Regions from separate parts of the Homo sapiens genome. Here all the other regions are linked to region 1. Evidence: promoter capture Hi-C in 16 types of primary human blood cells and fetal thymus (Javierre and others, 2016). All regions are on one chromosome and are shown on one strand. Each heading gives the region's core, a stretch centred on a gene start or on the middle of the fragment in contact. The rest is flanking DNA. Distances are from core to core; before and after follow the strand shown.

The links. Contacts are between HindIII fragments. The CHiCAGO score rates a contact against its expected background, and 5 or more counts as called.
Region 2: a contact is called between a fragment that was not itself captured here and the fragment with the promoter of DNAJB14 in region 1, in 1 of 17 cell types (fetal thymus). The highest score is 6.4, in fetal thymus.
Region 3: a fragment that was not itself captured here is called in contact with the fragment with the promoter of DNAJB14 in region 1 in 1 of 17 cell types (total CD8 T cells); the score reaches 5.2 in total CD8 T cells.
Region 4: a contact is called between the fragment with the promoter of SLC9B1 here and the fragment with the promoter of DNAJB14 in region 1, in 4 of 17 cell types (non-activated CD4 T cells, fetal thymus, activated CD4 T cells and 1 more). The highest score is 7.2, in non-activated CD4 T cells.

What each region holds. Positions count from the first base shown.
Region 1 is chr4:99,942,478-99,949,707 of GRCh38, reverse strand. It overlaps DNAJB14 (DnaJ heat shock protein family (Hsp40) member B14), which reads left to right and starts at 3,090. Exons shown (of 8, transcript NM_001031723.4): 1 at 3,090-3,269. The coding sequence starts at 3,137. It overlaps H2AZ1 (H2A.Z variant histone 1), which reads left to right. Exons shown (of 5, transcript NM_002106.4): 2 at 1-45; 3 at 322-435; 4 at 768-897; 5 at 1,185-1,620. The coding sequence ends at 1,246. RefSeq lists silencers at 1-22, 2,827-3,486 and enhancers at 643-692, 174-779, 3,657-3,706. The HindIII fragment of the contact is 11,087 bases long and covers 1-7,230 here.
Region 2 is chr4:103,100,439-103,107,668 of GRCh38, reverse strand. CENPE (centromere protein E) reads left to right here. Exons shown (of 49, transcript NM_001813.3): 49 at 1,353-1,858. The coding sequence ends at 1,447. Among named protein-coding and RNA genes, the nearest start is that of BDH2, 4.2 kb to the right of the region's middle. The HindIII fragment of the contact is 4,331 bases long and covers 975-5,305 here.
Region 3 is chr4:103,073,969-103,081,198 of GRCh38, reverse strand. SLC9B2 (solute carrier family 9 member B2) reads left to right here and starts at 4,438. Exons shown (of 12, transcript NM_178833.7): 1 at 4,438-5,015. It overlaps BDH2 (3-hydroxybutyrate dehydrogenase 2), which reads left to right. Exons shown (of 10, transcript NM_020139.4): 10 at 1,444-3,607. The coding sequence ends at 1,497. RefSeq lists an enhancer at 4,439-4,558 and a silencer at 4,669-4,778. The HindIII fragment of the contact is 645 bases long and covers 3,840-4,484 here.
Region 4 is chr4:103,016,709-103,023,938 of GRCh38, reverse strand. SLC9B1 (solute carrier family 9 member B1) reads left to right here and starts at 4,234. Exons shown (of 12, transcript NM_139173.4): 1 at 4,234-4,340. SLC9B2 (solute carrier family 9 member B2) reads left to right here. Exons shown (of 12, transcript NM_178833.7): 12 at 1-1,686. RefSeq lists an enhancer at 3,893-4,393. The HindIII fragment of the contact is 6,332 bases long and covers 3,599-7,230 here.

The DNA of each region.
Region 1 (7,230 bases), core at 1,841-4,340:
GCCAAGACAAAGGCGGTTTCCCGCTCGCAGAGAGCCGGCTTGCAGGTCAGTAGTTGTTCGTGCAGTCTGGGAGTCATGATGTTTTTCTTTGCATTTCCTTTTTTGTTATTCATCGCTCTCGATGGGCGTTTTGTGTATGCGTGGGTGATGCGGTGTCGCGACTTGGGCTGCCCATACGATAAATATGGGGGGGAGGAATCACGTGTTTCGATGTCGGGACGCGTTGCTGCGCCCGTGCCCCTTGCTTTGGCGCGCATATAATTTCCCCATCTCTAGTTCTCATTTTTGTGCATTTATGTTTGTGTATGCTTAAAATTTAAGTTCCCAGTGGGCCGTATTCATCGACACCTAAAATCTAGGACGACCAGTCATGGACGTGTGGGCGCGACTGCCGCTGTGTACAGCGCAGCCATCCTGGAGTACCTCACCGCAGAGGTAAATGGGTGAACGCCTATAATCCGGAGAAGGTTTGGGGGGCGGGGAGGCGGCAAGAGGGAAGGAGGAAAGTGATGCAAGAAAACTCCCAGGCCCTGAACGCGGCGAGAGGCCTAAGAGAACGCTAGAGGGAGCTGGTGTTCAACAAGGATCCTACTGAGCTTGAGTTCTCTGCTCTTGGAATTAAAATTGCGTGCCCCCTGTATATCTTGCCAGTCAGATAGTGAGGAACGATTCCAGTTGGTAGATCTGCGTTTGTGAGGGTTTTATTCTGTTCTCTGAATCTTGGCCAAAGGAAAGTTGGAAGGCAACTGACAGATTCTGCCTTTTAGGTACTTGAACTGGCAGGAAATGCATCAAAAGACTTAAAGGTAAAGCGTATTACCCCTCGTCACTTGCAACTTGCTATTCGTGGAGATGAAGAATTGGATTCTCTCATCAAGGCTACAATTGCTGGTGGTGGTATGTTAACTTCTAACATTTTAAAAAATTTCTTCAGAGGAAGGAATTTTTTGCTGCTTTTAATTAGTTTTTCCAGGAGAGGAAATTTAAGTATATTTTCAATGATGGAAGTATGGTTGTATCATGAAATTTGATTTATATGTATAACTCAATGAATTTTTACTTCATACTTGAGCTGCATGTTTTTAAAGATACCTTTCAAGTTGAACAGTATACACTTTCTTGGTTTCAAATACTGTGATTTTTTAAAAAATCTTAAGTAGAATTAATTCCTGTCACTCTCCTAGGTGTCATTCCACACATCCACAAATCTCTGATTGGGAAGAAAGGACAACAGAAGACTGTCTAAAGGATGCCTGGATTCCTTGTTATCTCAGGACTCTAAATACTCTAACAGCTGTCCAGTGTTGGTGATTCCAGTGGACTGTATCTCTGTGAAAAACACAATTTTGCCTTTTTGTAATTCTATTTGAGCAAGTTGGAAGTTTAATTAGCTTTCCAACCAACCAAATTTCTGCATTCGAGTCTTAACCATATTTAAGTGTTACTGTGGCTTCAAAGAAGCTATTGATTCTGAAGTAGTGGGTTTTGATTGAGTTGACTGTTTTTAAAAAACTGTTTGGATTTTAATTGTGATGCAGAAGTTATAGTAACAAACATTTGGTTTTGTACAGACATTATTTCCACTCTGGTGGATAAGTTCAATAAAGGTCATATCCCAAACTAGTTGTGTATTAAATTTGCTTGGTTGTAATAGGAACTTGTTTTGAGTATCTCATCTAGCAGCAATAACTAAGCACATTTCTTTGTGACTGAACTGTCAAATCTGTAGATCAACAAAGTGAGATAGCCCAAGTATATTTTTTTAATGTTATATGAGCTACTAAAGTTTTAATTTAAAAAGTTGGCAGGAGCTGGAGTGGGATTGTCAGTTTCTTAGGCTAAGTGTGACCATTTCAGTTTGTACATTGGCTTCGCTTGCTGTGTGACAGCACTGCACTAGTATGCTGTTAGCATGGTGGACTTGGGGAGGGAGAGAATAGGTAGGAATGTCCTGTATATCCACAGAATGAACTCCGAATTTAAACTTTAAAGATAATAGTGCTACGTGCCAGGCCCTGCTTTGAAGTCTGAAGTTGTTAAGTACTCAGTAACATCATTGGGGATATACTATCTCCATTTTATCGAAGAGAAGCAGGGTTTCTTATTTGAAAGTACCGAGTTATGGTAGTTAGCAGAATTAACAGCTTGGCTCACAGCATTATGTAAAAATTGTTACCTTGTGGTTGGGTTGAGCAGGTCATTTTGACAGTTTGTCATGTTTTTTTTTAAAAAATTTGCACATAGCAAACATTCCCCCCACCCCCACCGCGAAGACTAACAAGACACGGTACTTCCAAGTGGTAATGTTATCCAAATGGGACGGAAAAGGTGAAATCAAAAGTTTGCTTTCGTTAGGGCAGCCCCTGAGGGGCTGATTCCTGCCTTGTTTTGGCTACACAGGATTAAGGTCGATCTGCACCACTCGTTGCAAGCTACAAATTAAACTGCTTTGTACTTTGGATAGCCAGACATCCGGGTCAGAAAAAATGTAGCTGAAATAAGGCTGCCATACAAGCCCTAAGATTAGGTTCAAACGACGCTCTAACGTGTCCCGGAAGTGCTGAGACTGGACTGACACCTTGGTCCTCACCTGACCGCATCCTCCCTCGCTTGAGGGGCCCAGAGGCGGAACCTCCAAGTCCTGGCAATTTTACTGAAAACGAGTGTCCCCTTCCCGGACCCTGTCCTCCTGGCCTGAGCTGCGAGGGCCTCGCCTGGAGGTCACAGGGCACGGCGCTACCAATGCCGGCAATCGGGTCCCGGGCGGAACCCCTCCCCGCGATGGGCAGCCCGGCTGCTATCGTCCGCCTCCCGGGCAGGTCCGCTTCGAGCCTGCTGGCGCCGTGCGCGGACCACCGAGTCAGCTCGGACGCCCCGGCCCAGGAGGTTGGTCCTGGGCCGGGACGGATGCGGATCGCGCCCTAGGGGCCCGCGGGGGGCGGGGAGGCCGCCGTGAGGAGGCGGAGCTGCGAGGCCCGCCCGTCCGCCCGGGCCGTCGCAGCCGCTGCCGCGGTCCCCTGCGCTCCTCCCCGCTGCCGCCGCACGCCCCCAGCCGGTCCCGCCTCGCCTCCTCCGCGGCGGCGGCTTCCGCCCTTCTTAGCTGCGCTGCCGGAGGAAACGGAAGAAGGAGCAAGCTATGGAGGGGAACAGGGATGAGGCTGAGAAATGTGTCGAGATCGCCCGGGAGGCCCTGAACGCCGGCAACCGCGAGAAGGCCCAGCGCTTCCTGCAGAAGGCCGAGAAGCTCTACCCACTGCCCTCGGCCCGCGGTGAGACCTCAGCGTCCCTTCTCTTCCTGCCCAATCCCCAGACCACCGCGTAGCCCGCCCCTGCCCCCACCTCGGCCCCTCCTGGAGGCCTGCGGGGCCCCCGGCCTGTCTGAGCCAGCCCCAGCCCCAGGCCCGGTGGGGAGCATCCCGACACACCCCCGCCCTGGCCCCAGCCCCGGCTCCGGGCTGGGGCTCGGGGAATGCTGCGCGAGGTTCCTCTGCACCCGCCTGCCCGCCGGCTCCGCGTTCCGCTGTCCTAAATGTCCGGGTTTCATTCTCCCTGGAGGAGACTTGTCTGGTCCCGTCTTACCACAGTGAGGCTTTATTTGTATCTGTGTTGTTTATGTGGCCCCCTCCCTCCCCATTCTCAGTCCTACATAAGGCCTAGGCCCCTATCGAAGTGAGAGGAATGGTGTACTCTAGTGGCTAATCTCAGATTCCATGTTTCTGAGATCTGTAGAAAACTGTTCCCAAAGCAAACATCGAATACCTGAGATGACATTGCTTTTCCCTGGGAGAGAGTTCCTTTAAAAGAGAAGAGCACACTTTCGGCAAGAATGGTCAAGAGTCAGTAATGATTGCTGAAGAGTATCTGATTTGATAACACCATGATTATCGACGAACCAAATCTCTGAGGAATATGGTACTGGGTTTCCTTTAGTTGAAGTCAGCTTATTTATTTTCCTACTCGATAGGCTTCGGAGTAATAATAGCCAACATTTATTGAGCACAAAGTGCCAATAGTTGTGCCCAACATTTTGCATGGATTATTTCATTTATTCCTCAGAACAATTCTGTGTAGAGGTGCAGGATTCATTTGACCAGGTTTACCCACGTGGAAACAGACTTTCTGATAATTAATGAATGAATTAGCGAATGAATGAAAGTATCTTACCCAAGGTCACACAACAATTAGTAGCAAAGTCAGAATAGTAGCTGAACTTTCAGACTCGAAAAGGCCTTTAACCGCTACACTGTTGCCTTGCCATTAGTATTTCCAGGTTAAGAAGAAAGTTATCGATAGATTCAATTAATTGTAGAAAATTATTAATGAAAATATGGGGCCACTTGTTTTGTTGTCTCTTAAATTTTTTTCTCTACGTCGTTGAAGCCCTGTGCTCTTTGCTTTTCTCTCTATCCTTTCCATTACATTGCCTTCTAACACTATACCCATGAGGACAGGAAAATAAAATGAAAGAAAAGAGTTAATAATTTTTTAAGTTGTGGTTTAAAAACCTGCCAAATTTACGGTCTTAACTATTTTTAAGTGTGCAGTCCATTAGTGAAGTATATTGACATTGTTGTGCAAGGACTCTTCAGAACTTTTTCATCTTACAACACAACTGTGTACTAATCAGACAGCTCCCTACCGCCCCGTCTCCTAAGACCCTGGCAACTACCATTCTACTTTGTGTTTCTGTGAATTTAACTACTTTAGTTACCTCAGATAGGTAGATTCATGCAGTATCTTTTTGTGACTGTCTTACTTCACTTAGCATAATGTTCCCAAGTTTCATTTATGTTGTAACGTGAAGAATTCCTCTTTAAAAAAATACTGATTAGGCTGGGCGCGGTGGCTCACGCCTGTTATCCCAGCACTTTGGGAGGCCGAGGCGGGCGGATCATTTGAGGTGAGGAGTTCGAGACCAGCCTGGCCAACATGATGAAACGCCATCTCTACTAAAAATACAAAAAAATTAGCCAGGCGTGGTGGTGCATGCCTGTAATCCCAGCTACTAGGGGATGCTGAGGCAGGAGAATCGCTTGAACTCGGGAGATGGAGGTTACAGTGAGTCGAGATGGCAACACTGCACTCCAGCCTGGGCGACACAGCGAGACTCCATCTCAAAAAAACAAAAAAAAAAAGACCAAAAAAAAGCTACAGTAAAAAAACTGAATAATATTCCATTGTATATATACACCACATTTTGTTAATCCATTCATCTGTCTATGGACATTTGGGTTCCTTTCACCTCTTGGCTATTATGAATAATGCTGCTATGAACAAGGATATGCAAAGAGCCTGCTTTCAATTATTTTGGATACCAAGAAGTGGGATTGTAGGATCATACAGTAATTCTATTTTTAATTTTTGAGGAACCACAATACAGTTTCTGTAGCGCCTGCACCATTTTACTTTCCCACGAACAGTACATAGGGTTTCAGTTTCTCACCATCCTTGCCAACACCTATTTTCTGTTTTTGTTGGTTTTGATAGTACCCATCCTTGAGTGGGAGGTGATATCTCATTGTGGCTTTGATTTGCATTTCTCTGATGATTAGTGATGTTGAGCATCTTTTCATATGCTTATTGGCTAGTTTTATAATATCCCATTTTTGGAGAAAATGTCTGTTCAAGTCCTTTGCCCATTTTTAAATCACATTACTTGTTTTTTTTTTGTTGAGTTGTAGGAGTTCCTTATTTATTCTGGATATTAACCCCTTATCAGATATGTGATTTGCAGATGTTTTCTCCTATTTATATGTTGCCTTTTCATCACTTTGTTGATGGTGCTATTTGATGCACATAAGTTTTTAAGTTTGTTGTAGTGCCATTTTTCTATTTTTGCTTTGTTTTTTTGTGCTTTTGCTGTCATATTCAAGAAATCATTGCCAGGAGTTAATTATTTTTGAATCCTCCCCTACTGTTGAATATGATTTCATTTAGTCATTATCTAGTCCTAGAGGGACAGTTTTAACATTAAGTGAGTAGGCAGTCTAGACAGAATAACTTGGCTTTTGAAGTCTGACTCCACCTACTAGCTTGTAACCTTATTTTTGAGCAGGGTAGAGAACCTCTCTAGCCTTTAGCTTTTTCGTCTGTAAAATGGAGACAATGTACTGATCTCATAGTGCTGTTGTGAGGATTAAATGGGTTAATACAGGTAAAGCATTTAACAGTAAGCACTCAATTAATTTTGGTGTCATCCCCATTTTACAAGTGTGAAGCTCTGAGAATTCTTAAAACCCACCCAAATGTACACACTATCATGCTTCTGTCATGCAAACAATTTGAATAAATCTCCTAAAAGATATTATAAGATACCAAAGCACAACACAGTTTGTTGCTCTTAAGGACATGAATGTTGGAAAAATTAAGAAATGTAAGGGTGAAAGTTGGTAGTACAAATGTAAGGCAGTATGTGATTACCAAATAAAGTGATAGGGGATAACTGTGTAGTCCAAAAACCTTAGTTCAGATGCAGATGTTTTCTCTGACTCCTTTTTCACCAGTGACAAATTACTTAACTCCTCTGAGCCTTCTTTAGTTATATGTAAAGTGAAGATGTCATCACAGGATTTATGTGAGCTGAAATAAAGTTATATGCCAGTACTCAGAGAAGTGTATTTTATATAGAACATTCTAGAAGATGTTTATTGGTACAATTTAAGAATTCAGGAGAGAGAAAGATCTAGGACATTTGTGTGAGATCCTGATAAAATATTTCATATAGAAGGAAGTCGAAGCTATTGGTTACAATTAGATTTTAAAATTTTAGCCCTGAATTTCACTTATACTAGTCCACCACCAAATTCTTATAACTCAGAAAGTTGACTGAATGTTCGTCTGGATATGCTTAAACTAAGAGAGGCAAAAGAAAAGATCACATTTTGATTTCCATTATTCTTACATGGTAAAACATGAGACTAAATTCCTGCTAGATTCCAGGATTTTTGTCCTCTTAAAATTTTATTTTTGCCAGGTAGGAAGTCTGATACATAAGACACTTTCAGAAATTGGCAAGAGTTTTTCTTGACAAAAAACTTAATCCCCAAATGGATCTAGGATATTGTTTCTTTCCATGTTTTTAGTTGAGAATATTATTTTACAGTTTACTTATTGCAGTGGACTTCTAAGTGAATTCAGTTGTACAACTTTCAAATATTTTAAAGTATTGATATATATGAATAGCTACCACATAGAAAATATAAATATTCTAGAAAAAATGTCAGTAAGCAG
Region 2 (7,230 bases), core at 1,891-4,390, 3.2 Mb before region 1:
CAAGGATCACCCCCAGCTCTGCATGGAGGTTGTCCACAGAAGTGGGGGGACTTGCAGGAGAAACGGTAACACGGCATTTCTTGTAGTCTTTCTCACCACATAGCATCTACTGTGCACAGCCCTTTGTGACAGTGTGTCTGCCTACCCTACCAGAGGTACCCTGTTATGCAACTGTAGAAATCTAAAGCAACAAAATTGTACAGTAAGAAAGGCAGTTGCCAAATCATTTAAAACCTTGAGCACTATTTGCCAGAGTTTATAAACCTCTACTTTGTGATTAAGAAAAAATCTATCCATTCTCATCAACTACATCAAAATTAGATCAAGTTGACAGTCTAAAAGTGTTCTTAGGGAGATAGGTAGGCACAGAAACATTTGGAATAAAAACATGTTTGAAATATTCTCTTCATTAAATAGTATTTAACAAACATTTAAGGACCTTCTATTGGCTAGCTAACACTTGCATGGAACTCTCTCACTATGTTGCCCAAACTGGCCTTGAACTCCTAGGCTCAAGCAATCCTCCTAAGCATCAAGGACTACAGGTGCATGCTAGCTACCACACCCAGCTGTAATCACCTTTTGATTTTGTCTGCTAGTGCCAGAGGCATATGCATAATGTGAATTCATCAAACTGCAAATAAAAATGTTTGAGTCCTTTTTTAATATGTGGATCTCTCTGGTACTGTTTTTAGATAAATAAAAGAGTAGCCTAGAAGAATACATAAATCAAAAACTGACCAATTCAGAATTAAATGAGATAGTCCCAGCTTGAATTAATACCAGTCTTTAAAAAAATAAATGTGAGTTTTTACTTTTAATTATAAAAGGTAATCTAAATTACCTTAAACTAAGGTAATTGCCAAGACCAGTTATGGTAGATTTACTTTTATAAATATAATAATTGTAAAATAAATATTGTTTATAAGCAAATAGATGCAGCTAAAGTCCTTTTTAAAGGCTCACAGAAAGCTTTCCAAAGATGATTAAATATTCTCTAAAATACTATTTGTTTAGCACACCATTTATTTTGAAAAACAGGACAAAAGAAAACTCAATCAGCCCGTGTTTGATTCACTTTGAATTTCAAATTGAAGAATTCCAAATAAAACTTTATTACCTCTCAGTTTAACTATGGTTTGTCTAATAGTTCATTTTAGGACAAAATGGGGAGTAAACTTCTCCAACTCTGAGGTGAAATACACCATCTTCATGACCAAACACGGTGAATCACGTTGCCATTTTTCATTCTTCACATCTCTCCTGTCTTAACCTCCTTTCCACTTCCAGCTGTGCTTGGTTTTTGTGTATTTTTGTAATAGGATGAATGTTGTTTTCATTTTCTTTCTCAGAGGTGCAAAATGCAGGAGCAGAGAGTGTGGATTCTCAGCCAGGTCCTTGGCACGCCTCCTCAGGCAAGGATGTGCCTGAGTGCAAAACTCAGTAGACTCCTCTTTGTCACTTCTCTGGAGATCCAGCATTCCTTATTTGGAAATGACTTTGTTTATGTGTCTATCCCTGGTAATGATGTTGTAGTGCAGCTTAATTTCAATTCAGTCTTTACTTTGCCACTAGAGTTGAAAGATAAGGGAACAGGAAATGAATGCATTGTGGTAATTTAGAATGGTGATAGCAATACCTTCTTCTTGCATATGGTAATACTTTTAAAAGTTGAATTGTTTTATTTATTTGTATATTTTGTAAAGAATAAAGTTATTGAAAGAAATGTAAAGTTATCTACATGACTTAGCATATTCCAAAGCATAATACATACATTAATATAAAACATCATTTTATTAACAAAATTGTAAATGTTTTTAATACCTTACACATTCAATAAATGTTTAGTAGTTCTGAATCACCGCTCTTCTATATAATGTTAATGGTTTCTTGGTGAGGTAGTCTCTCTTGTTGACTCAGTATTTTGCTATGAAAATATACACAAGTTTTCTGGATCTGGATTTAAATTCTTAAAGGATAGCAGAGGCTATGTCCTCTTAACTTTCCAGTTCTAATATTCCTTTTACTGTAATAACCACAGAAGTTCTTTCTCACATTTCTGGTAACCTACCTATCCCAATCCCTATACAAACTCTCTAAATTGGTTGGTTTATTATAGACTTTGTTTTTCATTGCCCCTCACTCCCAGCCTGGAGGAACCTATAGATCATTTATTCTACCTCTTCATTGTAGACATAAGGAAACAGTACCAGAGTTTTTATCAAAGTAAAGTTTTCTAAACCTGGAGTCCCCACAGATAGATAAAGCATATATGGATGGACTTCTTGTAATCTGTAAAATTTTTGAAATTTTTTATGAACTTTTTTGTGTGGATTTATTTGGGGGGAGGGGATACTGGGGTTTATACTTTGTTTTATCATATTCTTAGAGGGGCCCGTGATCCTGTAAAAATCTAAGAACTATGGTTTTAGAGGATATTTGATATTACTTTTATACCATATGACTTTGAAAAACCACTTAAAACAAGTTGCATTAGGTTATAGAACAGAGGTAAAGTGATTTCAAGTCATTCTCGGCTCTTTGGTAAGATTCATTCAAAGGGAGAGATTATTGATTGCATCATATCTAGTATTTCAAAGTCTGTGGATTGGATATTTCTCCGTATCTTAACATACCACCAAAGGAATTAACAAAGACTAAGGGGAAACTATCCCTTCCTAAAATCTTTTCCCCCAGACCTGTACCTTGAGAGTCTGTCTTCTGCTTTCCACCCTTATCCAAACAAAACACTAACATGCCTGCAGGTTTGATTCTTTATGTCTGCTTCTCCACTGAACAAAAGTAACCCAAAGTAGTGGTTGTTTACCTGATTGATAAAACTACATTAAAGCCATTAAAAATCTAGTTGTCAGGTAGCCAGCCTAGTAGAATATTGCTTAACTTTTGAATTTGGGTGTCCATTTTATTCCTCAAATTTGGGAAGTTTGTGGCCATTATTTCTTCAAATAAGCTCTGTCCCTTTTGCTGCCACCATTATCCCACACCCTTAATATCCCCACACATTTTTCTCAGATTTCTGCTTATATAAGTTAGAAAACTCAAGTGGTTCTTTTGATTGTGATGCAGCTCCTCATGGGCCACACTTTGTACCTCACATTAGGGATCTGCTGGGACTTGAGTCTAGTTATAGGTCTAGGAGCATAGAGGGGTGGTGGGGGTAGGTCCTGAGGAGAATCAGCATTGTCTTGCTTGGCAGCTGCCTCAGGGGAGGCCATTATTATTTCCTCAGGCAATGCAGGGTTAACCCTTCAGACAAAGGTGGAAAGGCCATTACCAACCCCAATGAGGTTGGAGAGGCCACTACAGCTGGTAAAAAAAAAAACTCATCAGAATGTAGGAACTGGCCAGGCATGGTGGCTCACACCTGTAATCCCAGCACTTTGGGAGGCTGAGGTGTGGGACTCTTGAGCCTAGCAGTTCGTGACCAGCCTGGGCAACATAGTGAAACCCCGTCTCTACAAAAAATACAAAAATTAGCCTGGCATGGTGGCTTATGGCCATAGTCTCAGCTACTCGGGGGTGCTGAGGTGGGAGGATCACTTGAGCCCTGGAAGTCAACGTTGTAGTGAGCCGAGATCATGCCATTGCACTCCAACCTGGCCAACAGGGTGAAACTGAAAAAAAAAAAAAAAAAAAAAAACTCAATGTTCCTGGCTTCAGGGTCTTCCCACACGTCCCCATCCCAACTTATAGAATCTCACTCTCCCAGTCACTGTGGCTTATTTTACCAGTAGACACACTGAGGCCTTTTGTAATTGCACCAATCAAATGATGAAGACTGGTGTTTGATTTTCAGCAATTTTAGCCTCATGTCTACAGGAGAGAAGATCCTCTTTCAGGGCACGCCTATAAGCTCTTAGGTTACTTATGTGGAGCTTGAGCCATGAATTTGAATCCCTGAAGTCATCCTTTTTTTTTTTAAATAATTTTGCCCAACAATATTAGAAGCAACCAACCAACATTGGTATATTTCTTAGTTTTCCATAAATATTTGAAAGTATTATAGGGCCGGGCACAGTGGCTCACACCTGTAATCCCAGCACTTAGGGAGGCTGAGGCAGGCGGATCACAAGGTCAAGAGTTTGAGACCAGCGTGGCCAACATGGTGAAACCCCGTCTCTACTAGAATACAAAAATTAGCCAGGCATGGTGGTGTGTGCCTGTAATCCCAGCTATTCGAGAGGCTGAGGCAGAAGAATCGCTTGAACCCAGGAGGCAGAGGTTGCAGTGAGCCGAGATCATGCCACTGCACTCCAGCCTGGGCGACAGAGCAAGACTCTGTCTCGGAAAAAAAAAAAAAAGTATTATATATAGAGTCACTTAAGTTCCTCACCTCTAAGAAGTGGTTGATTAGGAGTATCCAATGCAGACATTTTGCATACCTCTATGAACAGTTCATTTCTTGGACAATCAGTGCTCTCTGTACTATTAAAAGGAGAGCCAGGCTGGGCGCAGTGACTCATCCCTGTAATCTCAACACTTTGGGAAACTGAGGCAGGAGGAGCACTTGAGACCAGGAGTTTGAGACCAGCCTAGGCTACATACTGAGACCTCATCTCTACCAAAAAAAAACAATTTGGAGGGCTGAGGCAGGAGGATGGCCTGAGCCCAGGTATTCAAGGCTACAGTCAGCTATGATGGTGCCACTGCACTCCAACCTGTTCAAGAGTGTGACCCCATCTCAAAGAGTAGAGCCTTTAGCATTTTCAAATCTAATCAGACTAAGAGCCAATTCCAGGAACCCCAAAACCAACTCAGGAAACTCATCCTTAAAATTTTGTTCCTCTAGAACCTCTCCTGTTACCAAAATCTGTCTTAGGATTTTCCAGAGAGACAGAACCAATAGAATATACACAGATGGTCACCAACTTGTCATGGTTCAACTTGAGATTTTTCAACTTTAGGGATGGTGTGAGAGCGATACGCATTCAGTGAAAACTTTACTTTGAATTCTGATCTCTTCATAAGATAGCAATACTCTACTGTGATCATGGGCAGTGGCGGCAAGACACAGCTCTCAGTCAGCCACGGGATCACGAGTAAACAACTGACACTGTTCAGTGTACTCTGTTCAATAAATCCCATGAGTCAGTCAACACCTTGTTATAAAACAGGCTTTGTATTAAATGATTTTATCCAACTGTAGGCTAACAAGTGTTCTGAGCACATTTAAGTAGGCTCGGCTAAGCTCTATGTTCAGTGAATTAGGTATATTAAATACATTTTCAACTGACAATGTTTTCAATTTACAATGGGCTTATTGGGATGTAACCCCACTGAAGCTTGAGGAAAAAAAAAAAAATATATATATATATATATGCAGAGAGAGAGAGAGAGGATGTTTATTAGGGGAATTGGTTTACACAATTAGGGAGGCTGAGAAGTCCCACCATAGGCTGTCTGCAAGCTGGAGAGCCAGGGAAACTAGGAGCGTGGCTCAGTCCAAGTCTGAAGGCCTGAGAATCTGGTCGGAGTTCAGGTATCCAAGGGCAGGAGAAGATGGATGTCCCAGTTCCGGAAGAGAGAGAATTCACCTTTTCTCTGCCTTTTTGTTTTATCTGGGCCCTCAGCCAATTGGATAGTGCCTGCCCACATTGGGTGAAGTAGATCCTTACCCAGTTCACTGATTCCAATGCCGATCTCTTCCAGAAACACTCAGAGATGTCCCAGAAATAATGCTTACCAGCTCTCTGGGGATCCGTAAATCCAGTCAAGTTGACACCTAAAATTAATTATCACAAACATTGTCTTGAGAGCCTGGCAGAATTATATTCAGGAAACTTATTAAGAAACTGCCATTCACTCAGCAAATATTTAATGAGCATCTACTATCTGCCAATTACTGTTTTAGGCACTGAAAGGCACTACCAATGTGGAACTCATATTGTAGATAAGAAAACAAGTAACTAATACTCTTTTAATACGAGCTAATCACAATGTAAAGGTGTAAAACATAGTCCCCACCCTTGAAGAAATTTAGTCTGCTGAGAATACTAATGGGTAAGCAAGTATTTGCAATACCATGTGACTTAGGCTGTTATCAAGTAAGCATTGTTGCTGAAGATTACAGAGGGATGCTGAAGAAAGCTACATCAAGAAGCATTGGAGTTGGCTTTGATTAGAGAACTCTCATAAAGTCTGTTCCAAAAGCCTCAAAAGTCAAAGGGCATTATTAGTAAAGCAGGAACAAAGCTAGATGTGATTACAGATTGTTAGAGCCAGCATTAGAAGTTGCTGAAACAATGAACAAGGAGGGACAATTTTACCATAGACCTCATATAGACACATGCAGAAACTAAGTCCAGTTTTTAAAAGAACATTAAAAAGCGCAACTTTTACCATCCATTATAATTAAATTTCTCCAACAATGTCTTCATCATAAGAATCACTAACATGTATTAAGCACCTGTGTGGCAAACATTGTGCTGATGGATTCACAGGCTTAGTCGTTCCTCCTCACCACATCCCTGAGGTAGGTGCTATTTTACCTTCATTTTACAGATGAGAAACATAAGAGGTTCAGAGATTTAAGTGATTTACTCACTTAGCTAGTGAGAGAGAGATATGGGACTTGCTCTAGTCTTACTGACGCCACAGTCTTTGTTCTTATCCCCTGTGACTGTTAGAAATCACTTAGCTCCATGTAACAAAAAACGTGAAAAACACTAAAGTTTATTGTCCTCACATAAGAAGTCCAGAGGAGTTGTTGCCTTGAGGCTGTCATCAGGGCCGCAGGCTCCTTCTCTTGCTGGTCCCTGTCGTTAATGTGTGCCTCTGGCCTCAGATGAACTCACTAAATGGCTGCTCTGTCCCACGGCATCCTATCTTCATTCCAGGCAAAAAGAAAGGGAGGAGCAAAAGCTAAAAGCCTTTCAGAAGGGCTTACTTTTCTATTTAAGAAGGAGGCCCTCCTCAGAAATTCCCACCTGCATTTCATTGGCAACATCTATGCTGCTTGGCCACCCCTAGCAGCAAACAAGGCTATGAAGTAGAGACTTTTGTTTTCCAGCTTTGACAAGTGAAAAAAGGGGAAAGTGAGTTGGATGGGTGCTGAGGAAACCAATTTATACAGTACATGTACAAGTAGCCTACACAATCACTCTGCTCACTGGCACTACAGATAAAGCACATGTTGCTATCCTAACCTAGAGGGCTCATGAGATCTAGTCCTTTCTTTTTGACCTTATATCTCTGTTCTCTTCAGCCAAA
Region 3 (7,230 bases), core at 2,913-5,412, 3.1 Mb before region 1:
TACTTTTAAATGGCTTAAGATGAAAGCAAAAATGATGCTTATAAGGTATAGAGCACAAGAAGGTCCTCCTCTGTTTTATGTCTCTGAATACTACAGGAACAAGGAACTGTAATGTGTGAGAAGAGGGAAGGAAAGGGGACTAGGCGGGAGCGAGGAGGGAACAACTGATAGCTCCTCTTCCCAGTAACTTGGTGCACACCAGATAGTTGGTGAATGTGACAAATACAGGGATTGAAATGTTTCCGTGACAGCGCAGTTTCTTCTCAGAACTTCTCCCAACTATTAACAACAATTGTTAATAGCTGGGGAAATTAATAGACAAATGTTTAATGAAGAAGCACATGAGCCTTTGTGATTTCTCTGAATCCGTATCTTCAGAATAGCTCATTTGATTTGGGTACTGCTGATAAGCTAAATTACCCTTAGTTAGCCAGAGCTTAGGTTACAAGATATTTGGAAGTGTTGTGGCTTGAAATGTGCTACAAAAGTACCTTTGGCTTTTTAGAGGTTTCCAGAGGAGTTCATATGTGTAACAGAGCTTGTCTTTTAAAAGAACTTGGGGGAGTTGGAGGTATTTCTTTGGTGAAGTGACTAATAACTCCCTAGTTCACCTACTGTATATTATCAGCTTTTATCTATTGAACTCTTAAAATTTCTCTATTCATTATGATATCCTTACTTCCTCTTCCATTGTTTCAGGCTTCAGATGAATTTAGACTGTTTGAGTCTTTATTATCCATTTTAAGTTAAAAGATTTTTAAACTTCTACCAAAAAGATCACTTCAGCCTTATTTAGAAAATGAAAAATTTATGGGAATAAACCAGTAATTATTTTTTAAATTCCTTAGTTTTATAAAGATTTGGATATCTGAAACTAATATAGAATATTTTTATAGCTTAATGGATTATAGTTATTATCATTCATGTAAATTTTTAAAACACATTTAGTGTGCTTCAGCTCCTACAATTATCCACTTATAATTGATCAACTAAATATATGCTGTCTTTTTTAAAAAACTGGTCATTAATATGACCATTTTATGACTGATACACTTATGTTCAAAAGTTTATTAGTGGCATAAAACTTAGCTAGTTTTGAATAGTTCTGAGTTTCAAAATGAAAATGTGCTTTTAGCCTATATCCTAATTTGGGGAATGGCTATACATCACTGTTCCTTAATTTGGGGATTCTGAGACCAAATACCTAACAGTGACAGGTGCTTAGACACCAGCCAGAGGCCATTTAGTTCCAGATCACAGGACACTCAGCAGTTCTAAATCAACCAAATGTTAATTTGGATTTCCCTGAATTAAGTGTTTAAGTGAGGTTTCCTGTTAGGACAAGGGTAAATTGTTTAGTTATCCTAGTCACAGGAAAATTTCAAAATACAGCCTGTATCAAACCTGGTTAATTGTTCTGTCTCCTTGTGTTTATCACTGCAGTCTGCTTATGTAACTGGTAACCCTGTCATCATTGATGGAGGCTGGAGCTTGTGATTTTAGGATCTCCATGGTGGGAAGGAAGGCAGGCCCTTCCTATCCACAGTGAACCTGGTTACGAAGAAAACTCACCAATCATCTCCTTCCTGTTAATCACATGTTAATGAAAATAAGCTCTTTTTAATGATGTCACTGTTTGCAAGAGTCTGATTCTTTAAGTATATTAATCTCTTTGTAATCTCTTCTGAAATCATTGTAAAGAAATAAAAATATTGAACTCATAGCAGGAGAATAGTTTTTAAAATAAATCTCGATTTGTTAGCATCTGTCTTAGTCACTTTGGGCTGCTATAACAAATTACCATAGATGGAGTGTCATAGACAACAAACATTTATTTTTCAGTCTGGAGGCTAGGAAGTGCAAGATAAAGGTGCCAGCAGATATAGTTTCTGGTTAGGGCCCACTTCCTGGTTTGCAGATGGTCCTCTTCTTGCTGTATCCTCACATAGCAAGAGCAGAGAAAAAAAGCGAGCGCTCATGTGTCTTTTTATAAGGACACTAATCCTGTTCATGAGGGCACTACCCTTATGACCTGATTACCTCCCAAAGGCCCCACCTCCTAATGTATCATATTGCAGGTTAGGATGTCAACACATGACTCTGGGGTGATACAAATAGGCCATTGCAGCATATACAATTAAAATGTAAATATGAAGAAAAAAGGAAGTTTTTGTTTTTTTGTGGGGGAGATGGGGGTTAAGGAAGAAGATAGTAATTTCAGGACTAGGCATGGTAGCTCATGCCTATAATTCCTGCACTTTGGGAGGCCAAGGCAGGAGGATCACTTGCGGCCAGGAGTTCAGGACCAGCATGGTTAACAGAGGCTAAGGCAGGAGGATTACTTGAGCCCAAGAGTTTGAGGCTGCAGTGAGCTGTAATCATGCCACTGCACTCCAGGGTGACAGAGCAAGACCCTGTACCTAAATAATAATAATAATTTCCACTTCATTTTTCAATATTCAAATATTTTTATATAATTCTGCATTGTTCTGTATGTAGATCCTAATTTTAAAATTTTACACCATCATAAATGAACAAAGGTAGGAAGGAGTTTGGCTTCAATAGCTTACAGTAAAAGGAGTAAAGGAGTTCAGCCTCAAAACGATATTGTTGACCTGTTATGTTATGAAAAATAATCCAGTGTTTATACTTAACGGATGCCATCCCTTATTATTTACTATTTTCTTAGTCTAACTAAACAATCTTTATTAAAATAAGCAATGATATTTGACATGGGCCTAAGAAATATATAGTTAGCTAACAATATTGTCAGTTAGAGGGATTTCTTTTCTAAATTAAGTACAGATTTCTTCACCAAACTCCAGGATAACAGAAAAGAGGACATAAAATTTGGACATAGTTTCTGGATAAATAAATGTAAATTTAAATATAAATTATGTAACAGGAAACAAACGAAATTAAAGAAAATAAATTTTTCAAGAAAAGTAAATTTATGGATGTTAATTCTGTAACATTGTCAGGGCAAAGTTTTTTGTTTTTATTTTAATTTAAGGGTTTTATGTTTGTTTTTTACTTGTTGCAACCTCAAATGACCAAATGGTATGATGCACACTGAGATACTCAATAAATGTGCAGTGATTCTTAGCCTTTTTTCCTAGAACTTTAATATTAACATGGAAAATTCTGAAATGGACAACAAAAAGATAACACTTTGTGTATGGGGAAGAATATCATGCAGTTGATGACGGTACATTAAAATTCACACAAAAGGACATTTTGACTAGCATTCAGAAAGAGTCCATTGATTATAAGATTATCTATGAGGTTTTGGACCGGGCACTACACTACCGAATTATGGCTAACTTTGGTTTGTGATCTAGACCAAGTCACCCAATCTATCTTGGATTTTAGTTTTCTGGTTTATGAAATTAAGGAGTTAAGCTAAATGACTTGGGTTTCTTTTCGTGTATCATAATCAAAATGCTGTAACTTCTCTAGTGAATTCATAGAACACTGACTCTTACAAGTATGTCATGAAATACTTTATGCTGTGAGCAGGTATACATGTATAATATATGTATAGCTATGAACAAATAAATTTTAAATAAATGCACAACGAATTCTACAAAATGGGCTCCAACATTAACAAATGATCTGAGTTAGTCTTTCTCACAGCCGACCATAAACTATAAAACATTTTTATAAACACTATCAGCAATAAAAACGAAGTAAAATCTAGCCAAAAAATTCAATGTTCTCCAAAGTCATGTTAATCAAATCAGGTGATATATTAATGAAGTACATATGACTAAAAGGAAAAATATATGTCATTCCTGTGGTAAGAGGAAGCTGAATGTCACTAGAAATTTTTACAAGCTTTAGGAGAGGAAGAGTTCCGTTTAGGAAAATAATCATTTCAGATGATCTGAAGAAGGGTATTGGATGGAACCTATCCAATAGGTTCATCACAAAAGAGGACCTGAGAGACAAGAATGAATGGTTTCTGACTGGTGGAGAAATTTGAGGATAATCTCCCTTGCTTGAAAAGCGGTGATTAAGATTGGCACTTGCTTACAGGAGTGAAAAACAGGTAAGGGGTGCGCGCGTCTTAACACACACAAGAGGAAATACAGAGAAAAGGAAGACACAAACATGAAATGAGAATTAAATGAAATAGAATCACACTGCTGATAGAAGGGTTAAAAATCTAAAATACAACAAGAAGGGCAGGTGTTAAGCGATAAAGGGGGGCAGAACAAGTCTTTTATCCGGCCATTTAATTGGTCACCTTAAGAAAGAATCCTATCTTCCCACCGCAGCTGAGAAGACACTTCTAAGAGGTACAGCTAAAAGGTGGAGGACTGATAGACAACTTAGAGGTTGGTTTCGGGAACGATAAAACAAGTAACGGGCTGCCCGGCCTGCGCCGCGGAGTCCCGAGGAGCCTGCGCTGTGCTCCTCTCGCGGTGTCTCGTCATCTCCGGGAAGACTCGGCGCCTGGGTCCGCGCTCTCTGGGTAAGCTTTCCGGGAAGCTTTCCCGGGAGCTCGCTGGTCCTGGCCCCAGAAGCCTGCGGACCCGCCCAGGGAGGATAAGCAGCTGAAAGACCGCGCGGTGCCGCTCCGAGGCCCCGGGACGTGGGCCCATGGTCGGCCTGGCGCCACCTTTCCGGGGGAAGCCACGCGCACCAGGCATCGCACGCGGCTCTGCACCCGCGCCGCCGGACCTGAAACCCGGCGGAGGGCACACGGGGCTGCCGCTGCGGGCCCCGGACCAACCCATGCTTACTCCGGAGCCTGTACCGGCGCCGACGGGTCGGACCTCCCTGCGCGGTGTCGCCCAGCGGGTTCGTGCGAAAGGCGGGGCCGACTACACGCGGTGCCGCGCCCTGAGACCGTTTATCTGCAGTCAACGCAGCCTCCCGGCTCAGCCTGGGAAGATGCGCGAATCGGGAACCCCAGAGCGCGGTGGCTAGACCGGGCTCCGCCGCCTCCCCCACAGCCCCTTTCCTAATCGTTCAGACGGAGCCTGGTCGACTTCGCCGGAGACTGCCAGGTGAGAGGCCCCAGAGACACTAAGGGTAAAAATAAACCCAGCGCCAGCGGCGGGTACCCTGTAGGCCTGCTGGACCGGAGACGCGAGCGAGGGGCCCAGCCTTTTCTGTTTGTACACCCGGTGACGGGCGCGTGTCTGTTTACTGTTGTAAGGTGTTGGCGTGGGTTTTCTTGCTTGCTTTTATTTTAGTTCTCAGATTAACCAGAGGGGGTGTTGCCTTTGTGGACTGGGTTAGCATCCTCGAGGTGCTAAGAATCATCGTATGCTATTGACTGAAGAATATAACCTTAAGACAGCAGTAGCTGCTGTAAGAGATAAAGTAAAACATCTCAGTAACTAAACATAGTTCAGGCTTATTTCTCGTTCATGTCAAGTCCATTCACGTGTTCAGCTGTTGGCCTTCTACTCAATTATTCAGGAACCCAAACTCCTTTTATATTATGGCTTTGCTATCCCCTAAGACCTTGGAGTCCTTAGTTTCCAGGCAACGGACAGAAAAAGAAAAGCTACTAGAGGATTGCATGAGGATTGTTTCTTATGGGTGAGGACTGGAAATCACATACTATTTATGTCCACATGCCATTGACCAGACTTCAGTCACATGCCACACTGACCTGCAAGGGAGACTGGAAATGTACTATGGACCCAGGCAGAAGAGTAAACGATTTTGGTAAACACATATCAGTCTCTGACCATCCCTTAAAGGGCAGACTGCATCTTAGTCATCTTTGTTACTCTTGTGCCTATCACACCAGAGAAACTTGTTAAGGCTTTGTGAGGCCGAGGTGGGCATATCACCTGAGGTCAGGAGTTCGAGACCAGCCTAGCCAACATGGTAAAACCCCATCTCTACTAAAAATATAAAAATTAGCTGGGCATGGTGGTGCACGCCCGTAATTCCAGCTATTCCGGAGGCTGAGGCTGAAGAATCGCTTGAACCCAGGAGGCACAGGTTGCAGTGAGCCAAGATTGTGCCACTGCACTCCAGCCTAGGTGACAGAGCAAGACTCCATCTCAGAAAAGAAAAAAAAGGAAATGAAACTTGTTAAGGGATGGGGTTGTTATGTGTCTAAAGTTGAAACTTAACCATATTTCATTGTGATTGCTTAGGAATCATTTATCATCCTTTATCATCCTGTAACTAGATTACAAGATCTGAATATAGGAACTATTTAAGACCGTTCACTTCTGAATCCTCAGCTCAAGGACTGGGACGTAACAAGAGCTTAATAGCTCTTGTTTGTTGAATGAATGAATGAATCATCAGAGAGGAAAACGAGGGAGACAGTTTGTCAATGTTGGAGTTAGGAAATACTGAGAAGGTGACATTTGAGTTAGATTTTGAATTTCTTCAAGTAGAAAAAGCAGAAATGAAACTCCAGGCAGCAATAGTAGTGATATTTTATTGTTGTTGTTTTGTTTCATGAGTGGAAATTTGGAAAACAACCAAACGTTTATAAGTCCAACTTTTCTTCATTCAGTATTCAAATATTACAATTTAACTTCAGGGTAGAGGAGGGGAAATACATAATCTTACAATCCAAATAATTTCTGTTGACTAAAAGAATGGCAGTGAAAACCTTGGCACTAATTTTTAACTTTATAAAATGTTATTTTCTGGACATTTTTGAGAAATTTCAATACAAAGGCAGTGTTCTGATCATTCATTGTCTATGATGATTTTGCACTGTAACAAGAAGCTAGAAAGATAGAAACTAAAGTTTGTAAGACAGAGGTTCCTCATCACTGCTGTTCATCAGGGCTTCTCAGGGATGGTTCTGCAACAAAATCACCTGTTATATTGGTTAGGATGCTTTTGGCTGCAAGTAACAGGATATTCAGCCAAAACTCCCTTCAAAAATACAGATGTACTTTGCTCATACATGAAGATGTTTGAAGGTAGGTGGGTCCAGGGTTTGTTCAGTAGCTCAGTAATATCAGGGCTCTATGTTGCTTTCTGTGTTCAGCTAATCTTGACTTTTCTTCATGGGTGAATGATGGCTGCTAGAATTGTCCCAAGAAACCCATCCACAATCCCAACTTCCCTTGCCTCTTTACCTGGTCATTTAAAGACAAAAAGAGGAGAGGATTTTCCTCCTCTCTCTCTGTCTTTATTAAGAAGGAAAATCTTATGTAATATGCCCCAATAGTCTTGCCTACAAATTCCAATGGCAAGAAATGAATCATGCTCACTCCTTAGCCAATAAGTGGCAAA
Region 4 (7,230 bases), core at 2,985-5,484, 3.1 Mb before region 1:
TTCCCAGGTCATCAGTGGCATTTTCTCCAAGTAACAGGCTTGGAATATTTATTAACTTATACATAATACAGTTAGTATAACTAAATCAGAATGCTATTGAATATGTTTAGGGCCCCTAGGAAAATTAGAAATGGAAGTCCACAGAGTACAGAAATGATTGAAGGGCACCTGAAGCCACTGCCAATACCTGTTTTCATTTTGAGGTCATGCAGCAAACTCTTTTCTACCTCTAAGAGGGTAGCCACCATCTAAATCTCTGTGACTGCCCAGTGCTGGCTTTTTGACTTCCTCTATTGGATCTCTGAAATTTGTGCCTATTCCTGGAAGCTCTTTGTAGGAATTTATTAATTGCTATAAGACTATGTTGCTGTTATATATCATGGAGATGGTGAGGTCAAGAATGACAGAGGCTGACCATTCAGCAGGGCTCACCATGTGAAGGCCGGGGTTTGTCACCACATTGAAAGCCACATCTCTTGACTTGGTTGGTGAACTTAGGGTTAACCTGATAGAGTACTGACCAACTCAACCTATCCCCTCTTAAACCACAGATAGAAACAATTACTCTAACTTTTGGGTCCCTTATACATACTTATGTCAGAGCACATGTAACACTTTTTTTCACTTTATTTACATGTTTGTCTCTTATTAAATCAGCTCCCTATGGGTAGGAACCTTGTCTTAATTATCCTTGAATCCTCAGCATTTTTCACAGGGCATGGAACACAGTAGACATTTAATAAACATTTACTGACTAAATCTGAGAGGAAGAGGATCCTCTCTCAATATCAGAAAACTACTTGCCACACGACAGTTCGGATCTTAGTCCACTTAGTCTATCTTAGTCAGCTTGGGCTGCTATAACAAAATACCATACACTGGGTGGCTTACACAACAGAAACTTACTTCTATTAAAGGTTGGAAGTTCGAGATCAGGATGCCAGCATTGTTGGGCTCTGGTGAAGTCTCTCTCCCTGGCTTGCCAATGGCCACATTCTCACCCTCTCACTCATGTGTCATCACTTGATGCCGAGAGAGAGCAAGCAAGCTCTCTGGTGTCTCTTCTTATAAGGGTACTCTAATCACAGCATGAGGGCCCTACCCTCATGACCTCATCCAAATCTAATTGCCTTCCCAAATCCTCATATCTAAATACATCACATTGGAAGTTAAGGCTTCAACATATGAATGTGTGGGGAAGGACATAATTCAGTCCCTGAAAGAAGTGTCATATTTCCAAGGACAGTATATTTCTGTCTGGTATTAACTCCCAATCACCTTGATTGATCTTGATGTCCTCAAAATTTCCTCAGGTAAACATTTGCAAATGATCTCATCCACTACATTCTTTAAAAATAGTATTTTTTTCTGATTATAAAGTAACACATTTTCATTGCAAAAAATTTAGAACACAGAAAAATACAAACAAGAAAACTGAAACTAATATAAACATGTATTTTATTTTTCTTTAAAATTGTACTGCAGTTTTGGGGGATGTATTATTTTCAGAAAGATATATCATCAACTGAATTTGTTGGGTGAAAGGCAACATAAGTATTTCATATTTGGCTTTTATGATGCTATGTAGATTGAAGAATTTTTTTGTATATAATGAATGCTAAGCCTTCATGTTTATATTCAGATATTCATTTTGCAATGAATAAAACAGACAAATCCCTGCCTTCATGGAGCTTGTTTTAAAATCCATTTACTCCCTCACTCAGAATATATTATAACATGCCTACTGTGTGCCAGGTCTTGTGCTAGATACTAGGGAATACAGTGATGAACAAGATATTCAAGGGCTTGGTTTTCAATAGAACTTGATTCTAGTGGAAAATTGACAATGTGAGGAATACAAATATGAATAAGACATGATACTTGCCTTTAAGAACCTTAGAAGGAAATAAGATATGTACAAATAGCTATAATCCAAGTGAATAATTCAAAAGTGTTTTTAGTGTAGAAGTTGAGGAAATCTTAGAGGAACTGATACTTGAACTAGACCTTCAAGAATGGAGAGGATCTGGATGGATGGGGTAATATTAGGGAGTAAGGTGAAGATGGGAACAACTAGTGTGGGAGGCTGGCATATTAGCAAAGTTTTGAAAACAGTAAAGCCTGGAGCATAGAAAGTGATTGGCACTTGAGATTGATGAAGAGAATTAGAGATAAGACTAGAAAAGAAAGTTGGCACTGAAATCATACTAAATAGATCATTGGCTAAATATTTTTATTGAAGTACTTTCAGAAGTATGAAACTATGTAGAAAGTGTTAAAACTTTTTTTATCATGTCATGTATAGTTTTAAAAAATTGCTCTCAGTTAAGATTCTCCTTATTCCTCAAAAGCTTTTGCTTTCCATGACTTTGTTGCAAATATAATCAATTTACTTATTTTTAAAACTTAATTTTTATAAGAAAGGTTATCAGATGATTGTTTAAATGTTTTTTATTAGTAAATTTTCATTATATTGTCTCCCAAAGAACCACTGTATTTTTTTAATGTCTCAGAACATTATATTTTTATATGAATCATTTATGTACCTCTCTGTAACAAGTGGGAATTGCTTCATGGCATTTGGGGAGTACGTAATATTATATTTATAGTTGACTGACTCAAATCCAGCCTGAGCCCTCTGGCCTGGTGAGAATTCCAAAACTCCATTTGTTGATGTGCGCTCCATCTTCCTTACATGGACCCTAAAGCACTTACCTCTCCAGGAGCCCATTCCTTCTAGAGCATAAGAGTAGTGCCTTGGAGGCAAACAGACTCCTAGCAAAGGTCTTCCTTCCCAGGTTTACCATTTGTCCCAACTCCCATTATCTTTAGGGATCTACCTGCTTTTCCTGTGAGTACAAAACATTTCCTTTTCATGAGTACAAAACATTTCCTTAACCCTATAATCATGAAACCCTGTCTACTCTCCTGAAACGAGGAAGAAAAATAAATCCTTGCTGAGATGTCTATAACACGTTGAAGGAGGGAAGGTGTTAAAAACAATAAAAAGGGCAGGGCTGTGGTGGCTCACGCTTGTAATCCCAGTACTGTGGGAAGCCAAGACGGGCAGATCACTTAAGTCCAGGAGTTCAAGTCCTCCTGGGCAATATGTGAAACTCCTCTCTACTAAAAATACAAAAATTAGCCGGGGGTAGTGGTGCCCACCTGTAGTCCCAGCTACTCAGGAGGCAGGAGGATCGCTTGAACCAAGGAGGAGGAGGCTGCAGGGAGCCTAGATCGCACTGCACTCCAGCCGGGGTAATAGAGTGAGACCCTGTCTCAACAACGTCAACAAAACCAATAAAAAGATAATTTCGTATTTAAGTTACCCAAGAAGGAACGGTAATTTGGATCAGATCTTAGATGATGACTAAGAAAAAGAACACTCCGGTAGAGGAATTAACTTTACAGAACGCACTGAGGCAAAAAGGAATACAGTGTTCAAGAGTAAACATTGAGTGTCAGGAGAAACATTAGATAGGAAAGGGCAGTTTGTCTTTCTAAGAAGTTTACACTTTCTCCAATAACAGTTGTTTTTGTCTTTTATAGGAAGCGCGGATTCTATTACTGGAAACTTTGGGACTGAAAGGCCAAAGCTTCTGGGCCCACCATCAACGCAGCTCCGCTTTCATTTCTTTCACATACAACTTTCCACATAAGATTTCATGCGGAAAAAAAAAAAAAACTCACAAAGGTTTTATACTGATAACAGTATATTAAGTGTTTACTTTGTACACAGCGTCTTTGTTCCAGACACTTGCCATGTCTCATTTATTCTCACACCACCACCACAGCGTCCTTTACAGATGAGAAGACAACCTCAGGGAGACGATGTATTTGCCTAGGTCCCATAGCTAGCAAGTGACAGCGCTGCAGTTTAAGCTCAGGCCGTCTTGGGGAGAGACCGTGCTCTTCTACCATTGCACTTTAAGCTGACTTTAGGGGAAACACAATCTGAGTTTTGACAAGTTTACTTCTGGCACATGCAGTCCCGAGCACTGCTTTTTGGCTAAAATGCCCAGTGATGTCAACTCTGTCCCTGGATTTCTACAACCCGATGAGTCAATATTCAGAAGAGACGTCGAAAGGAAAGGGTTCAATAGACAGAAAACACACCAGACAGTCCCAGAAACCCCAGAACCCTCGCCTCTGCCGGCGCGGACAGCCAAGACGTCACTTAAACGCGCTGCCGCCTCCTCGCCCCGCCCCGCCCCTGCGCGGAAGTCTATCCGGGCTTTCGCGTCACCACCCTGCCCACCTGGGTGGCGCGTGGCTTACGCAACGGTCACTGGGCTCCTGGGCCGCTCCCGGGCCAGCGAGGGCTGCGAAAGAAGTTGTAGGTACGGCCCATTTTTCTTAACGCCGCCCTTCCAAGCCCTTTGGCGCTAGTCCCGGGTCTGCCGCGATCGTTTCCTTGCGGTAGGCCGCAGGAGGGCCTTTCCTCCCCCTCAGTTCAATGGGATTCTTGGGCTCTTCTCCCAGACGCTGAGGGAACAGCCACAGACATTGTCTCTCCTCTCCGTGACTCCTTTCCTTACTCCGTCATCCCACATCTCTCTTGTTTGTTCTCTTTTCCTCCTGTTTTTCTTATTTTACAAATACTCGCCAGTAAGAAAGAAGAGATCTGTCAGTTAAGATTGACCTCAAAATTAATTTTATTAAGCGTGTACTATTTTACAAACGGTGGATCCCTGCAAATAAACCTTCACATACATGCTCCTGCGACTGGAGATTCTGGGATTGGTTGCCGATCCTGAGAAAGCTCTCTTCCCCCACCCACCCACATCCACGCCCCTTAATCCTGTTTACTCCTCTTGGCTTTAACCCAGGGGACAAGCACTTCCAGCAGTCCCCAACCTTTTTGGCACCAGGGATCAGTTTCATGGAAGACAGTTTGGGGTGGGGGGCAAGATGGGATGACACTCTTCTATCTCAGATCATCAGGCATTAGATTCTCTTGAGAAGGCGCAATTTAGATCCCTCACATGCGCAGTTCATAATCAGGTCTGTGCTCCTATGAGAATCTAATGCCTTTGCTCATCTGACAGGAGCTGGAGCTCAGGCATAATCCTCTAGCCCTGCTCACCTGCTGTGTGGCCTGTTCCTAATAGGCCACAAACCTGTACCTGTCTGCTGCCCAGGGGTTGGGGATCCCTGCTTTAGACCAGTGCTTTTGAAGGAAAAAGGAAAGTTGCACACATACTGTGTCTGTCACATCAATCAGTAGTGTTACAAGAGCTCTTCACGGGACCATACCAGGTCCCTCACTCCCCCTCTATGGGTGTCCTAGAGCCTGTGAAATAACAGATTTGGTGATGTGGGGAGACAACTGGCCCAGGTGGCACTGAGGGAGGCCACACCCCACTCTCTGATTTTCCTTAGAGATAAATATAATTATGTGTGCAACAGAAGCATGAAAAATGACACTTATTATTGTCACCCCTAGAGAATTCATGCCCCAAATATTTTAGTCACTGTGTGCCTATGAAAAGGGCATTCATAGGTATTGTCCCCTGTGAGTACCAGAATTTTTTTTAACTTACTTTTTAAAATTCTATACAGATTTAGTTAGTACAAGTTCAGTTTTGTTGTGTGGATATATTGCACAGTGGTGAAGTCTGGGCTTTTAGAGTACCAGAATTTATACTGCTGTTTTTCAGTTGGCTCTTGTCATAAGGTCCTGCCAATTACTAGACACAAGGAAATAGGTGGGTGCTATAGTTGTAACATATAAAGTATCGTTTTTATAGTACTTCTCATTTTGTACTTATTTTTGTACTCATCCTGTTTAAACACTTCTGTTGGTTAACCAAATCCCATGTTACTGTGGTGTTTACTAAACACTGAGATTGAATAGTACCTGGAACATAGTGTAATATATGTTCAATAAATATTTTTTGAGGGAATGAATGGATGAGCTTCTGAAGAAGCCATACCTTAGCCACTTTTGTTTTTCCTGGATCCAGAGCTTAGTCTAGCAGTAGTAAACTCACCAGTGTGAGTTAAGTAGAGAAGTCAAGTGACTTGCTTAGGGAAAGGCATTCATTAAGTATTTTTTAAAGAATATCCTACTTTGTCAGGCGTTGTTTTAGGCATTGTGAATACAATGGTAAGAAAGACTAGCAAGATCGCTGTTCTTATGAAGTTTAAATTCTAGTGAGTGTAAGATAGAAAATAGGTAAACTATATGAGCAAGGAATTTTGGATAATAGTAAGCACAGTGAAGAAGTAAAACTGTAAAGGTCTTCCTTAAGACTGGGGGAGGGGTTAGTTTAGATTGATTGCTTAGTGATATTTTTAAAAACCAACCATGGAAATATTTGGGATCAGCGCACTACAGGTAAAGGCAACTCCAATTGCAAGAGCCCTAAGGAAGGAAAGAACTTGGCTCCTTCCAGGAACATCATCAAGACCACTGAAGCTAAAATGTAGAGAAAGTGGTACAGGATGAGCTTGGAGGGATAGGTAGGGGCCAAATCATGTAAGGCTTTGAATAGGCCATGGAAATCTACCCATGGAATAAGTTTGGAATTTATTTAAAGTGTAAAGAGAAACCAGTAGTGAGTTGGAGGGAGTGATAGGATCTGATTTACATTGTAAAAAGGTTTGTTCTGCCTATTATGTGATGACTGAATCATACTGGGTGGGGAGCAAGATCTATAGCAGAAGATAATTGCAGAAATCCAAAGAGGAATGACAAGTTTGGGATAAAATAGCAGAGAAGTAGATGTATGTGAGCTCTATTTTGGGGGCAGAGCCTACAGATTTTGTGATGTTTTGAATATAGAGGTGATGAAAAAGGAGTCACCTCTAGCCCCTAAATTTTTGTCTTGAGCTTGTGTGGATGATTGTGCCATTTACCAAATGGAAAAGACTAAGGAAGAAAAAGGAGCAGCCAGGGCGGTGGGAGGGGGGAGTTTTATTTTGCTTACCTTAATTTTTACATTCTTATTAGAAATCAAAGGTAATTTGAGGCTTCAGCTCTGTGCAGAGTGCAAGGAACCAAAGATGCAAAGTTGGGAGTCACCAGCATATGGAAAACTACCTAGGGCAAGTGTGCTCACCGATAACATTGCAGTGACTAGTGTAAAGCAGAGGAAAAGAAGCCAACAAAAGAGATGGAAGAATAGCCAATGAAGTAGGAAGAAAATCTGAAGAGTGCAGTGACATAAAAGCCGAGACTGGCCGGGCATGGTGGCTCATGCCTGTAATCCCAGTACTTTGGGAGGC